Linked DNA regions of Homo sapiens: region 1 is linked to region 2. The links are contacts of gene promoters, found by promoter capture Hi-C in human tissues and cell types (Jung and others, 2019). All regions are on one chromosome and are shown on one strand. Each heading gives the region's core, a stretch centred on a gene start or on the middle of the fragment in contact. The rest is flanking DNA. Distances are from core to core; before and after follow the strand shown.

Region 1 (4,251 bases), core at 1,169-3,668, 690 kb after region 2:
TCCCTGTGACTGGCTCGGCAGTGGGTGCTGTCTGGGGAAGGGGCTCCCTTGTCCCTGGAAAGGCTGGGGCCTAGGTGGTCTGCACCCTCAGGGCTTGTGTGGAGAAGCCACATTCTAGGCAGGGCTGACTGTGTCACTCACGCCTTCTGTCCACAGTGGTCTGGGACATGGCCCTAGTGCCCGTCCCGTCTCCCAGCCTGCAGCTCCTTTACCTGCTATTTTCCAACCCAAAGTCATTTTGTTATTTAGGAAATGAGAAAAGAGAGAAAAAAGAAAAATTTAAATCTTTAGTTAATTGCCAATGACAAGACAAAGGCACTCTGACTTTCTTATTATTAATTAGCAAACCCGTACTAATTAGTAAGCATAAGTACAATTCATGTTTTTTTCTTTAAATGCAATTAATATCGCAAGGAGAGATTTCCTGGGCCATCGTCGTATCATTAGCGAACCCCCCTAATTAGCTAGGCCCGCAGTGGCTGGAGATGGGAGTCTTTTGATTACAGCTCTAAAATATCCTCTAATATTTTATAGACTTTGGGGAGTGAGGAGTGAAGCTTTATTTTCCGATTCAGAGGGAATTACGCCGCTCTCAGCTCTAAAATATCCTCTAATATTTTATAGACTTTGGGGAGTGAGGAGTGAAGCTTTATTTTCCGATTCAGAGGGAATTACGCCGCTCTCAGCTCTGATTAAGCAGCATCTTCCTTGATTGCTGATTTCCCTTTGTGGCCCCTCTGTGCCTGCTCCTTGCTCCCAGGGGCACCCTGTGCCAAGTCTGCCTCACCAAGGGCCGTGGCTACAGCAGCACTGAGGCCCGGACAGGCTGCTTCCCGTCCCCCACCCTTCTTTGTCCATCTCTGAAATGGGAAGGGTGTCGAGGCCCACTCTGAGTCGGGCCTAGCGGCAGGTGCTTTACAGACAGATTCTGAAATCTGGCGACCGTGAGCAGGGCAGGTCCCGTGGGCCCATGAAGAAGCTCTAGGCTCTCTGGGGTCTCCTGTGCAGGAGCCTGTGGTCCGTGTGGCTCTCAGAGCCTCTGGCTTCTCATGGGAGGCTGAGGACACCGGCGGAGCTTCCCTGAAGAGACTCCCAGTGAGGCATGTGTAGACCCGGGGGACCCTGCCCGCCCAGCAGCCGTGTGTAGACCCGGGGGGACCCTGCCCGCCCAGCAGCCGTGTGTAGACCCGGGGGGACCCTGCCCGCCCAGGAGCCGTGTGTAGACCCGGGGGGACCCTGCCCGCCCAGGAGCCGTGTGTAGACCCGGGGGGACCCTGCCCGCCCAGCAGCCGTGTGTAGACCCGGGGGACCCTGCATGCCCAGGAGCTGTGTGTAGACCGGCAGGGCCCGGCACACACGGGAGGCGTGGCTGGTGCCTCTATCTTCACTGGTGCTGCTACTGAAGATGGACCAGGCAGCTGTGAGCCCCTCGTCAGTGCTGGTCCTCATGGCTGTGCCCAGCCCGGAATCTGTCTGGTCACATCCAGCAGCATGGCCAGTGCCTGCAGATGAATGATCATGAGAGCCTCCTGGTGTGGTAACTGACAGTACCTCATTTCACCTTCCGGACCCATCCTGCTCCACGACGAAGTGCTACTTCTGACTGGAGTGCTTCGTGCTTGGCATGCTGGAGGGGCTTGCTGCTGGCACCGGGGTTCTGTATGGCTGGTGGCACCGGGGTTCTGTATGGCTGCTGGCAGCCTCCTGGTCCCTGGAAACCTGTTCAGTTCACGCTGCACCAGCATGTATGTCCCCGCGCGCGCTGGTGTGCAGGTGTCCTGAGCTTGGAGAGGCTCTTTGGGGCCAGGGATGTGTCTGGGGCAGGTCTGGGGAATGGCTCAAAGTCTGAGACTGTGTCCTTAGCTCACTCTCCTCCTCTCCAGCCCTGGAGGCGGCCTCTCCTGGGCCCCCCGCCTGGGGCTCCTGCGCCCGCCCTTCCATCCCACACAACTGGTCCCTTCCCTCAGCCACACCTGTCACCTCTCTTGCTGTGTGGCCACAGGCAGGTGCTTCACTGCCTGGTCCTCAGGGTGGAGAGAGGAAGCGGGGAGCCTCCCTGGAGTCTCACAAAGCTAAGTGAGTTCGTGTGCTGGGAAGATCCAGGCTGTTCTGGGAAGTGATTCTGGGTGAGAACAGGGGCCTGATCTTCCTCAGCAGCCCCGGGGCTGGTTCCAGGCTCGCTGCCCGTTCACCAGCTCAGGTTTCCCTGCGTCCAGCCTCATCCTCAGTGCGTGCCCCGAGGTGCCCCCCGAGGCTTCTCCACAGAGTGGAAGGAATCGTGCTGGCCACAGCAGGTGTCACATGGAGCAACCTTTGCTTTAAATGCCTCTTGCATTGGAGGGAAGTTGTCTAATTCAGCAAGCATTTGTTGAGTGCCTCTTCTAGGCTGTTGTCTGAGGGAACAGAGACCCTGTGGCTGCGCATCTGTCTATTCAGCTGCCCTAACAGGAACACCGCAGACTGGGCTGCTTAAAGTAGCAGATGTTGGCCGGGCGTGGTGGCTTACGCCTGTAATCCCAGCACTTTGGGAAGCTGGGGTGGGTGGAAATCTTGAGCCCAGGAGTTCGAGACTGGCCTGGGCAACAGAGTGAGACCTCGTCTCTGTTTAAAAAAATAAAATAAAACAAAACCCTTGCAGACATTTGTTGCTCACGGTTCTGCAGGCTGGAAGTCCAGGATCAGGAACTGGCCGGTCTGGTGTTTGCTGAGGCTTCCTGGTTCCAGATGGCGCCCTCTCACTGTGTCCTCACACGGTGGGAGGGGCGAGGGAGCTCTGGGGTCCCTTTTATGAGGGTGCTAATCCCCCCCCCGAGGCTCCGCCCGGTGGCCTCCTCACCTCCCCGGGCTCCCTCCTAGGATTTCAGCATGAGAGCGGGAGCACACAGTCCATGGCATGGGCCCACCTCCTTCCTGCTGTGTGAGACCCGGTGGGCGCTCACTGCCCTGCCCAGTCCTCCTACTGGGGGGTCTCTGCCTGGTCCCTCAGTGCCCGATGGGCCTGCCCTGCCTACGGTGATGTCCCCACCCTCTGAGCACATCTTCTCACGCCCTTCCAAGCAATCCCTGTGCTGCTCCCCCTCTGAGGATGTCTTTTCAGTTCAGCGGAGCCTCAGGCCCCCTGGGAATTGAGCTGGACCCGTGCTGCTGCCCCTGCATCGCAGACACGCTCTTCCCTCCCTGCCTTCACGGGGCCTGCACCTTCACCATCACCGCCACCATCGTCCCTGTGCTGCCCTGGGTGTGGCGGTGGCACGTGCAAAGCCAGTGTGTGCTGTTGCTCACCATGTCATGAGTACACACTTGTTGTTTACACAGATTATCCCCCTGTGATCCTGGCAGCAAACCCACAAGCTGGTTGTGGCCCCAGATACTCAGACGAGGAACAGGGGCAGCCAGGATTAGTGACCTGCCCGTGTTGGCACCGGCAGTGGTGGAGAGTGCTCCAGGGTTCACACCCAGGCAGGCTGACCCCAGACCCTGTGGCCAGGGCAGTTGCAGGGGCTTCCTCATATCAGGCTGTCTGTGAAATCCACCAGGACAGGACCCAGGGCTTTCTGGGGCTCCAGCGTTAGCCCAGGGCCAGGCATTCAGCTGGGGAGTTTAAAGCATCTGCCGAGTGCTGAGTGGGGACAGGTGGGAGGAGGATGCTTCATCTTCCCTCTGTCCCCTTTCCCAGTGTGAGGACCCAGCCTTTTCAGTTTTTACCAGTTTGCAAAGATCTTATGAGAAGATGCTGGTGATTTAATGTCGTTACCTTGTAAGGATCATCTGCATTTTAGAAAAAGTAGCTGAGAAGATGGTTTCTTCGCCCAGAAAATAGATTTCTCAGGCATAATGTCTGAGCCTTGGTTGTAGAGGATTTGGATCCCTGCTTCTCCTCCAAAAAACAGAAGAAAATCTCAGTGCAGAGGGAAGGCGTAAGCTTGTTTTCTATCTGGGCCAGTGCCACAGTGTGTGAGCTAGCAGAGCCTCAGAGTGTGTCTGATACGTCGTGACCTTTGTGTTATTTTCTCTTTCAGAATGATCTTAGATATTCTCCAATGTTTTTTCCGGTAAACTTTAGAGGGAGCTTGCCAAGGTTCCTGCCAGTCCTCTTGCATTGCCTTGGTCTGCGGACTGACATGGGAAGGCAAGCTGGTTGCATTGTGGCTCCCCCAGAAGCCCTGTGCCCTCCCTGCACTGTGGGTCCTGCCCACTGCTTACTAGGGTTATTCCTGGGTGGTTTAGAATCTCAGTCACCTGCATGTCACT
Region 2 (4,103 bases), core at 96-2,595:
CTGGAGCAGGGATGTTCTGACGGGGACAGGGGGTAGGACGTCTCCTCTCCCAGAGCACCCGAGTTCCAGCCCTGCTGCTATTAATACCATGGGTAAACTCAGACGCTTCTCCTTCCTCCTCCCCTTGCCTTTTTTTGTCCAAAGACTGGAAAAGAGCACGTCCGCATCCCCCCCCCAGGGAGGTTCTGCCGCTCTAAGCAACAAGGGCCGCCAGACTGGCCCAGTAACCAGGTATCCAAGGTCAGGCTGCCCTAAACCGCACAGCTCCGGGCACTCATGCTCCCCCATCTGACCACGCAGATGCCTGGCCTTTGGGCAAGAAACCATGCTCTGATTCTCGCTATTCTGAATGCGCTTTGCAAAACCTCCCAGCAGCTGCATCGAGCTATTCATTAGCTGACAGCGGAGACCTTCAGGCAGAACCAGACGGACGGATGGTTTTGGGGGTTTCTCACCTCTCAGTTTCCATTCGCTAGGAGGGAAAACCGGGGGCTTAGACCGCAGGGGTAGTGGCCTCCGGGCCAGACTCTTGGCTTCCTGTTCTCTCTCCTCACCTGCGAACCCCAAACTCCTCTGCCAAGTGTTTCCCTCCCGTGATGGGGGCAGAAAGGACCCAGGTCCCTGCCCTCCCCTGTCCTTTGTAAAGTTTGCCATTTCTCTGTCACCCCTCCCTTGCTTTTCTGGTTTTGAGACCTGTCTTACATCCCTGCAGGGATCATATCCACAGCCTTCTCCCTCAGTCTCCTGGGGGAGGAAGCCTTCTCCCTCCCCGGCTCATACACAGGCTGCGGGGAGCCCTGGGCACGACGAGATTCTCGGCGCCCTGGAGGTTCCCCGGGGACGTCCCGCACCCACCTGGCTCGCCCCAGCCCGGAAACGCCTTCTTTCGGGCGCTTGGCCCTGGATTCCCGACCCGTCCCCAGTTTGCTCCCATCGGGAAGCGCGCAGGTCGCCCTGGCCTGGGAGAGGATGGCGGGGAGGGGGCGCGTGGCCCTTCCCTGGCCCGGCCTTCCCTCTGCAGGACCTGCCGGGGCTGTGCGGACCCCGGCGCGGCGCTGCACCAAACCCTCGCCAAGTGCGCCCTTCGCGTCTCCGCGGTCCCCGCGCGCCCGTAGCCGCCGCCGCCCGGGCGCCCTCGGGACTTGGTGCGCGGGCCGGGCTGGACCCGGAGCTGCCCCTACCCACCCGCCCCGGCACGGAGGTCCCTCTCGGTCCCTGCGCCCCCGAGTCTTCCCCGCGCGCCCCCCTACCTCGCAGTCCCGCGCCCGCCGGAGCCGGCAGAGGCCGCGCCGGGCACCGAGCCCCGGGCAGCAGCGTGGGCAGCTCGGCCTGGGCCGGGAGGATCGGGAGGTCCCGGTGACGTCGGCGCGCGGGGCAGGGACCGAGGCGGGCGGGACTGGGGCCGGTGTGGGGCCGCGGGCAGGACAGGAGGGCCACACCCCTCCCGGCGCTCAGCGTCCTGCCCCACTCCCTCCAGCTGCCCGCGGTGGAGCTCACGTGGGACCCTCCAGCCTCCCAGAAACACCCGGGCAGGGGGGCCCCAGAGCCTAAAGCCAAACAGGTGAGGGAGGTCAGTCAGCCCGGGCCAGTTCGTGCCTCCCCAGGTGAGAGGAGTAAACCCGGCTACTCTGCAAGGCGCCAGGTGAAGAGGTGAACCAGGCCACCAGTTAAGGCCCCAGGTGAGAGGGGTGAACCAGCGCCACGAGGTGAGGAAGGGGAACCAGGCCACCAGGAGAGGCCCCAGGTGAGAGGGGTGAACCAGGCTATCAGGCAAGGCGCCAGGTGAGGGGGTGAACGAGGCCACCAGGTGAGGAGGTGAACCAGGCTTATCAGCGAAGCCCCAGGTGAGAGGGGTGAACCAGGCCCCTAGGTTAGCCCTACAGTCAGTGGCCCTGAGGACGGGCGCCCTGCCCTACCCTGGCCAGCTGTGAGTGCAGCCCTGGCCCTGTGCCAGCCACCAGGAGATGGAAAGGACTCTAAGTGCGGAAGGATGCCGTGAAGGCCGGCATGACGGCTCCAGACAGAGCCCAGAGGCCTTTTCCATAAACTGCCCTTTTCCTCTCTGCAAACCCTCCCAGCACCAGCTTCCCTCGGGCAGCCTCCCACCAGCTCTGCTTCACCGTGCAGAAATGCCCCCCACGCCCTCAGCAGCGCCCCACAGATGGCTGAGGGATTCGTCACCATCGTCCCACACCAGTGCAAAGAATTTTTTTTTTTTTTTAGATGGAGTCTCGCTCTGTCGCCCAGGCTGGAGTGTAATGGTGCAATCTGGGCTCACTGCAACCTCCACCTCCGGGGTTCAAGTCATTCTTCTGCCTCAGCCGCCTGAGTAGTGGGGATTATAGGTACCCATCATTGTGTCCAGCTAATTTTTGTATTTTTAATAGAGATGGGGTTTCACCTTCTTGGCCAGGCTGGTATCAAACTCTTGACCTCATGATACACCCGCCTCAGCCTCTCAAAGTGCTGGGAGTACAGGCGTGAGCCACCACACCCAGCCTCAAAGAATTTTTTTAAGCCTTAAGAAATAACACGGCTGGGCGTGGTGGCTCATGCCTGTAATCCCAGCACTTTGGGAGGCTGAGGCAGACAGATCACAAGGTCAGGAGTTCAAGACCGGCCTGGCCAGTATGGTCAAACCCCGTCTCTATTAAAAATAAAAAAATTAGCTGGGCGTGGTGGCTGGTGCCTATAGTCCCAGCTACTCGGGAGGCTGAAGCAGGAGAATCACTTGAACCCGGGAGGCGGAGGTTGCAGTGAGCCGAGATTATGCCACTGCACTCCAGCCTGGGTGACAAAGCAAGACTTTGTTTCAAAAAAAAAAGAGAGAGAGAGAAAAACAACACAACACTAGGTGTCCGGTGTGCAAAATTTGGAAAATTATGAAAAATAAAAACAAAAAGAAGACCCCATAAGCCAACTGTGTAGAGGTAACCTCTCTCACCTTCTTGTCAGACATCCTTCTGATCGCCTTCTCCTCCACATTGAAATGTATTTTTAAAAAGTTTTTTTTGAGACAGGATCTTGCTCTATTGCCCAAGCTAGAATGCACTGGTATAAACGCGAGTCACTGTAGCCTCGACCTCCTAGACTCCAGCAATCCTCCTCCCTCAGCCTCCTGAGTAGCTGAGACTACAGGTACGTGCCATCACACCTGGCTAATTTTGAAACTTTTATGTAGAGATGGGATCTCGCTATGTTGCTCAAGCTGGTCTCAAACTCCTGGGCTCAAACAACCCTCCCAGCTCGGCCTCCCAAAATGTTGAGATCACAGGTATGAGCCACCGTGCCCAGCCTAAATACATATTTTAAGGGATTCACGTCACATACTGCGTTCTGCAGGCGGCCCGTGACTTCACACTCATCAATAGCCAAAAGTCCGTCTCCACACCCTGATGGTCTGCGCTGGACTCCGTGTCATGGATCTGTCACCTGCTTTGGGATATTTTGGTTTCTCCTGGTGTCTCACTAGCATATATCACTGTGATAGACGATCTTGTTTCCACAGATCTTTGTACAGGTATCTGGTCCCCCTCACCTTGGGATAAATTCCTACAAATAGATTGTGACTCAGAAAGCTGCACTTCTTCACACGTGTTGCCGCAGGGATTTTCCAGGTTATTTCTGTTGGGGATGGAGAACCCAGAACCTGAGAAAAGATGAATGTTCTTTTTTTTTTTTTTTTTTTTTTCTTGAGACGGAGTCTCGCTCTGTCACTCAGGCTGGAGTGCAGTGGCGTGATCTCGGCTCACTGCAAGCTCCACCTCCCGGGTTCACACCATTCTCCTGCCTCAGCCTCCTAAGTAGCTGGGACTACAGGCGCCTGCCATCATGCCTAGCTAATTTTTGTGTTTTTAGTAGAGATGGGGTTTCACCATGTTGGCCAGGATGGTCTCGATCTCCTGACCTCGTGATCCGCCTGCCACGGCCTCCCAAAGTGCTGGGATTACAGGCATGAGCCACCGCACCCGGCCTTTTTTTTTTTTTGAGACGGAGTCTCACTCTGTTGCCCAGAGCTGGAGTACAAGTGGCGCGATCTCGGCTCACTGCAAACTCCACTTCCTGGGTTCAAGCGATTCTCCTGCCTCAGCCACCCAAGTAGC

Evidence for each region. The method cuts DNA at HindIII sites, captures the fragments that hold promoters and counts their contacts. A contact is called where the count stands out against the background at its distance.
Region 1: a fragment that was not itself captured here is called in contact with the fragment with the promoter of AMZ1 in region 2 in 1 of the 25 tissues and cell types used here (spleen).

The regions. Positions count from the first base shown.
Region 1 is chr7:1,993,215-1,997,465 of GRCh38, reverse strand. The region is part of intron 14 of MAD1L1 (mitotic arrest deficient 1 like 1); the gene reads left to right. Among named protein-coding and RNA genes, the nearest start is that of SNORA114, 94 kb to the left of the region's middle. The HindIII fragment of the contact is 3,632 bases long and covers 603-4,234 here.
Region 2 is chr7:2,685,444-2,689,546 of GRCh38, reverse strand. It overlaps AMZ1 (archaelysin family metallopeptidase 1), which reads right to left and starts at 1,345. Exons shown (of 7, transcript NM_001384743.1): 1 at 1,251-1,345. RefSeq lists an enhancer at 377-646. The HindIII fragment of the contact is 48,320 bases long and covers 1-4,103 here.